Linked DNA regions of Homo sapiens: region 1 is linked to region 2. Evidence: promoter capture Hi-C in 16 types of primary human blood cells and fetal thymus (Javierre and others, 2016). All regions are on one chromosome and are shown on one strand. Each heading gives the region's core, a stretch centred on a gene start or on the middle of the fragment in contact. The rest is flanking DNA. Distances are from core to core; before and after follow the strand shown.

Region 1 (2,766 bases), core at 188-2,687, 38 kb before region 2:
ACTGCCACAAAGACATAGCTGAACAGATCTGACAGAAACCATCATGGCCCTCGAGACTAAAATACTTATTATCTGACCCTCCACAGAGAAGGTGGCTGACCCCTGGTCTGGTCTTTATGTTGCTTGCATCTGAGAACCACTGATAGTTTCTGAGCTGGGGAACCATACCATGAGCAATGTATTTGTGATGGAGAAGAAACACAACTTTGGAGTCAGTCCCACCTCTTATTAACTGTGGGGTTCTCACAAGGTATTTAATCTCTGTAAAATGTGGGCAAAAGATTGTTGACTAGTCACAATGAAGTAAGATTATATAGCTGGGCGCAGTGGCTCACGCCTGTAATCTCAACACTCTGGGAGGCTGAAGTGGGCTGATCACCTGAGGCCAGGAGTTTGAGAACAGGCTGGGCAACATGGCAAGACCCCGTCTCTGTTTAATAAAAGTTATGTAAGGTGCTTAATACATTAAGCACAATCTAAGCACATTCAATGAAAAACTGCTTCCCAAGGGCTTAAAACTGGTCATTTATGTAGGAGTCCTGGTAGCTAATAAAAAGATAACAGCATCAATAAGCTTCTGCTGAATCTTCATCTACAGACCAAACAGAGAGATTAGAGGTGGTAAAACCAGCTATACTATGGGCTATGGTGTCATGGTGTTCCCAAAAAAGCAGTGTACACATAATGGCTAGATTCTTAGCATATCCACAAAGTACCTGAACTTTAGCATCAATGGTAGTAGGGAATCTTTACTTTTTTTTTTTTTTGAGACGGAGTCTCGCTCTGGTGCCTAGGCTGGAGTGCAGCGGTGCAATCTCAGCTCACTGCAACCTCTGCCTCCTGGGGTCAAGTGATTCTTCCGTCTCAGCCTCCCGAGTAGCTGGGATTACAGGCACACGCCACCACGCCTGGCTAATTTTTGTATTTTTAGTAGAGACGGGGTTTCACCATATTGGTCAGGCTGGTCTCGAACTCCTGACCTCGTGATCCACCCGCCTTAGCCTCTCAAAGTTCTGGGATTACAGGCGTAAGCCACAGCGCCTGGCCAGGAATCTTTACTTTCTATCAGATAAAGTAGTCAGAGATCCCGCTGGGATGCCGGAAAAACATGGCCCCTTACTCTGGCAGCAAGAACTTTTCCACCTACCACTACTGACAGTGGCTCCTGTGGCCAAGGCAGGAGTTCTAGCCATATCAAGCGGTCCTCAAGGAGAAGAGGGGTGAGTAACTGTGAGAAACTAGGACCTCCTTAGGTGGAGATCTTGGTGCCAATTTCCTTCACTTACACATGCATGCAAGCACACACATGCTCAATTAACACCATTATGACCAGACATTATTCTAGGCACTGGATTATATTGGTGAACAAGACAAGCACATACCCCGGTGGAGTTAACCTTCCAGTAGATTAAGAAACTCCCTCCCCTAAATAAACAAATACAACGTACAAGAGATAAGTGCTCTGAAGTGCCACGAATATTGCCAGGAGCCCAGGGAGGGAGGGGGAAAGTTTCAGGAAATGAGTGAGAAGGGAAACAGGGCTAAAACCTGGAATTAGTAAGTGTGATGGGAAGTCATGGTAGGATTGGAAGTGACCTGATGAAACTATGTAGCAAAAGGATCATGCTGGTTATTATGTTGAGAATAAACAGCCAAGAGTGGAAACTGACACCAGGTAAGCAGCTCCTGCAGTAATTCAGGGAAGAGATGATAATGACTTCAACTAGGTGAGCAGCAGTGTGGCAGTGAAAAGTGGCTGATTCAAGAAGTATGCTGAAGGCCAGGCACAGTGGCTCACGCCTGTAATCTTAGCACTTTGGGAAGCCGAGGCGGGCGGATTACCTGAGGTCAGGAGTTCGAGACCAGCCTGGGCAACATAGCGAAACCCTGTCTCTACTAAAAATACAAAAATTAGCCAGGCGTGGTGGTGCATGCCTGTAATCCCAGCTACTCAGGAGGCTGAGGAAGGAGAATCGTTTGAGCCTGGAGAATTGCTTGAGCCCAGGAGACAGAGGTTGGAGTGAGCCGAGACGGCGCCACTGCATTCCAGCCTGGATGACAGAGCGAGACTCCGTCTCAAAAACAAAACAAAATAAAACAAAACAACAAAAAGAAGTATGTTGAAGACAGAGCTTAACAGGATTTGCTGGATATCATGTCAGAGAAAAGTCAAGAATAATGCCAAGGCTTTTAGTCCAATTAACTTGGTAATAAACGGTAGCATTTATTGAGATGATTACCATGAGAAAAACTAGTTTAGAGGGAAAATAAGAATTCAGTTTTAGATGTGTTAAGCTTCAGATGACTCAGACAGCCAAGTGCAGATGCTGACAGCTGAATATACAAGTCTGGACTTCAGTGGGGCAACTGAGGCTAAAGATAGAGATTAAGTCATTGGTGTATATAAATAATACAGATGGCATTTTTCTTTTCTTTTTGAGACAAGAGTCTCACTCTGTCACCCAGGCTGGAGTGCAGTGGTACGATCTCGGCTCACTGCAACCTCCGCTTCCCGGGTTCAAGCGATTCTCCTGCCTCAGCCTTCCAAGTAGCTGGGATTACAGGCACCCGCCACCACGCCCAGCTTATTTTTGTAGTTTCATATTTTTAATAGAGACGAGGTTTCTCCATGTTGGCCAGGCTGGTCTCAAATTCCTGACCTCAGGTGACCTGCCCTTAGCCTCCCAAAGTGCTGGGATTATAGGCGTGAGCCACCGCGCCCAGCCTTAAATAGTACAGATGGCATTTTAAGAAACTTTAGGCACT
Region 2 (2,967 bases), core at 34-2,533:
ACGTCCCGCGCCCGGGCCCTGCGGCCCAGTGCGCCTCCTGTGAACCGTGGGGGACGTGGCGGGGATTAAGGGTGTGAACGCGCAAGGTGCTTAGGCCCTTGCACCTAGCAAGGGCCCGATCCCGGTGACTTGTTATTTCTAGGATTATTTTATGGATGCGTCAGATGAGGTCCAGAGAGAAGTGACTTGCCCAGGGTCATCAGCTGGAGTGAGCCTGGATTTGACCCCAAGTTTCAAGCTGTGGAAGCAGATGTGTGCACAGCTTGGCCAGGTGTGGGCAGTTAGAAAATAGCTGGGCTGGGCGCGGTGGCTCACGCCTGTAATCCCAGCACTTGGGAGGCCGAGGCGGGCGGATCACTTGAGGTCAGGGGTTCGAGACCAGCCTGTCCAACATGGCAAAACCCCGTTTCTACTAAAAATACAAAAAATTAGCCAGGTGTGGTGGCCTGTAATCCCAGCTACTCAGGAGGCTGTGGCAGGAGAATCGCTGGAACCCAGGAGGCAGAGGTTGCAGTGAGCCAAGATCCAAAAAAAAAAAACAACAAAACAAAACAAAACAAAAAAACTGATGAACGCATTCGTGAGCTTCTTTTGCGATTCATTTCGCGCTTACAGAGCACTTACTATGTGCCAGACCCTGTGCTGCCACTTGAGACTCAGAGGCGTCCTCTGGAAGTTCACAGTGGAGGAGGGGAAGGGCAGGACAGTCCCCTCAAGCACGCCCTGCAGGTGCCCAGAGGCTGCTTGCGAGGGGTCAGGGAGCTTTTGTTTCCTCCCACCCACCTCCCTTTCTGGTCCCCCACTCTCTCCTTCCTAAGGCCAGTGAGGATCTGTTCAGGACTCCTCCCCCAACCCCCGCCCCCACAGCCCTGCCCAGCCAGGCCCCAGGCACAGCGCACCTGTCCACGGAGACAGCAGCCAGCGTAAAGCTGCTGGCGTACATGGTGAGGTAGATGAGCAGGTGCACGGCCTTGCAGACGAGGGCCCCAAAGAGCCAGGCATCCAGCGTGTAGATGGTGGCCTGGAAGGGCACGCAGCACAGGATGAAGCAGAGGTCAGCCACCGCCAGGTTGAGGATGAACAGGTCCGTGGTGCTGCCAGGCTCCTGCCAGGCACTCGGGCCAGGCTGCAGGAGCACTGCCAGCACCAGCCCATTGCCCACTGTGCCCAGCAGGAAGATTAGGGCAAAGACCACAGGCACTGCCACGGCCCCCACACTCCCTGGGCTGTCCAGTGAAATGTTCTGGGCATCAGCCATCTCCCCATCAGACGGGCACCTGGGAAGAGAAGCTGGAATCCTCAGGCAAGAGCCCCCAGTTCTGGTTGCTTGACCCCGGGATCTAACTCCCCCGACCTGGGTCTGGCCAGGTGTTCTGGGCTGGAAGCTCGTGGGAGATGGAGGAGGGGAGAGCAGAGCCAAAGTCATCGCTGAGTGTCACTGTGTGAGCAAGCTCGTGGTGTTCAAGGGGTGAGAGTTCCTCAGTTTCCTAAGGAACACCCCTGGAGTCCTGCCTGGAGGACTACCTAGGTATTTGAGGGACACTTTCAACCCACGAGGCTGGGGAAGGCACAAGCGAAGTAGGATGAAGATATGGCGATGGGGGGAGGGGCCAAACCCAGAAACTGGTATGTTTTCCTTCTCAATGGGGATCTGAAGCTCAGGGGAGACCCTGGGACATGGGTTTAGGGCTTTCTCTGGCTACAAGCTGTAGCCTTAGCAAAACACGGGTAACATCCCTGAGTCATTGGAGGGTCCAGTATAGTGAGATCATCACAATGGCAAAACTGGGAAGACCGTGTAGGTCACTGCTTCCTCTCTGCACATAGGGAAATTGAGGCCCAGAGAGGGGACATGGGAGGATAATATCACACTCGAAATGGCAGCTCTGGGGCTGTTGCCACCCTGGTATCCTGCCTCTTAAGCTAGAGTGCTCATCTGAGAGCTTGTAACAGGTGGTGCCTCTGACAACTTGTGTGTGTGCACACCGCACCCATGCTCACCCCCATCCCACTCTACAGCCCATGTCTCCTACTGCCTGTGGATCTCCTTGCAGGCTTGAGACCACTGGGGTGGTGGGACAAAGTAGGGGAAAGGGGGGTCAGGCAGGGAGTAGGGAAGAAAGGCAATGTCTGCCCCCATCCCAGCACCCAGCATGCAGTAGGTCCCCAAAGCCCAGGATGGGCAACACCCACCTCCGCCTTGGGCAGTGGGCTTGATCCTGGGTGGAATGGCCGGGCTGGGTGGGCCTCCTGATTCAGCGGCTGCCCCTTGGTGCCTCCCTGCAGGTACTGGTCTGCCTTCTACTTCTCCCCCTTTGCCTTTAAGGCCCCTCCTCTCCTCTGCCCCCTCTGCTGAGCCGGAGTTGGGCACTCCCTCTGGAGTAGCCACTGGCCACTTCCTCCTCAGTCCCTGATTTCCCCCAGGTGGCAGGCTCTTCTGCCTGGCTCTTCTCTGCCTCTCTGCGTTGCTGCTGCCTTTTCCTCTCTCTGCAGCCAGTAACCCATTGATCTCGCTCTCTGTGATTTGCTTTGTAGTTAACCCCTCTGTGCCCAGGGCCCAGCCAGTCTCTGGCACTCCCACCTCCTGTGGCCCAGCCTGATGTGACTCCATCCCCTATCCCTGCACCTTCTTGCTCCAATCCATGTTTAGAAAAGGTTCCTAGGCCGGGCATGGTGGCTCACGTCTGTAATCCCAGCACTTTGGGAGGCTGAGGCAGGCAGATCACTTGAGGCCAGGAATTCGAGACCAGCCTGGCCAATGTGGCGAAACCTTGTCTCTACTAAAAATACAAAAATTAACTGAGCGTCGTGGCGGGCGCCTGTAATCCCAGCTACTCTGGAGGCTGAGGCAGGAGAATCGCTTGAACCTGGGAGGTGGAGGTTGCAATGAGCCGAGATGACGCCACTGCACTCCAGCCCAGGTGATGGAGTGAGACATTGTCTCAAAAAAAAAAAAAAAAAAAAAAA

What was found. Contacts are between HindIII fragments. The CHiCAGO score rates a contact against its expected background, and 5 or more counts as called.
Region 1: a contact is called between a fragment that was not itself captured here and the fragment with the promoter of GALR3 in region 2, in 3 of 17 cell types (megakaryocytes, naive CD4 T cells and naive CD8 T cells). The highest score is 5.6, in megakaryocytes.

The regions. Positions count from the first base shown.
Region 1 is chr22:37,859,685-37,862,450 of GRCh38, reverse strand. All of the region lies in intron 5 of EIF3L (eukaryotic translation initiation factor 3 subunit L), which reads right to left. Among named protein-coding and RNA genes, the nearest start is that of EIF3L, 12 kb to the right of the region's middle. The HindIII fragment of the contact is 1,721 bases long and covers 577-2,297 here.
Region 2 is chr22:37,821,698-37,824,664 of GRCh38, reverse strand. GALR3 (galanin receptor 3) reads right to left here and starts at 1,283. Exons shown (of 2, transcript NM_003614.2): 1 at 900-1,283. The coding sequence starts at 1,258. The HindIII fragment of the contact is 26,563 bases long and covers 1-2,967 here.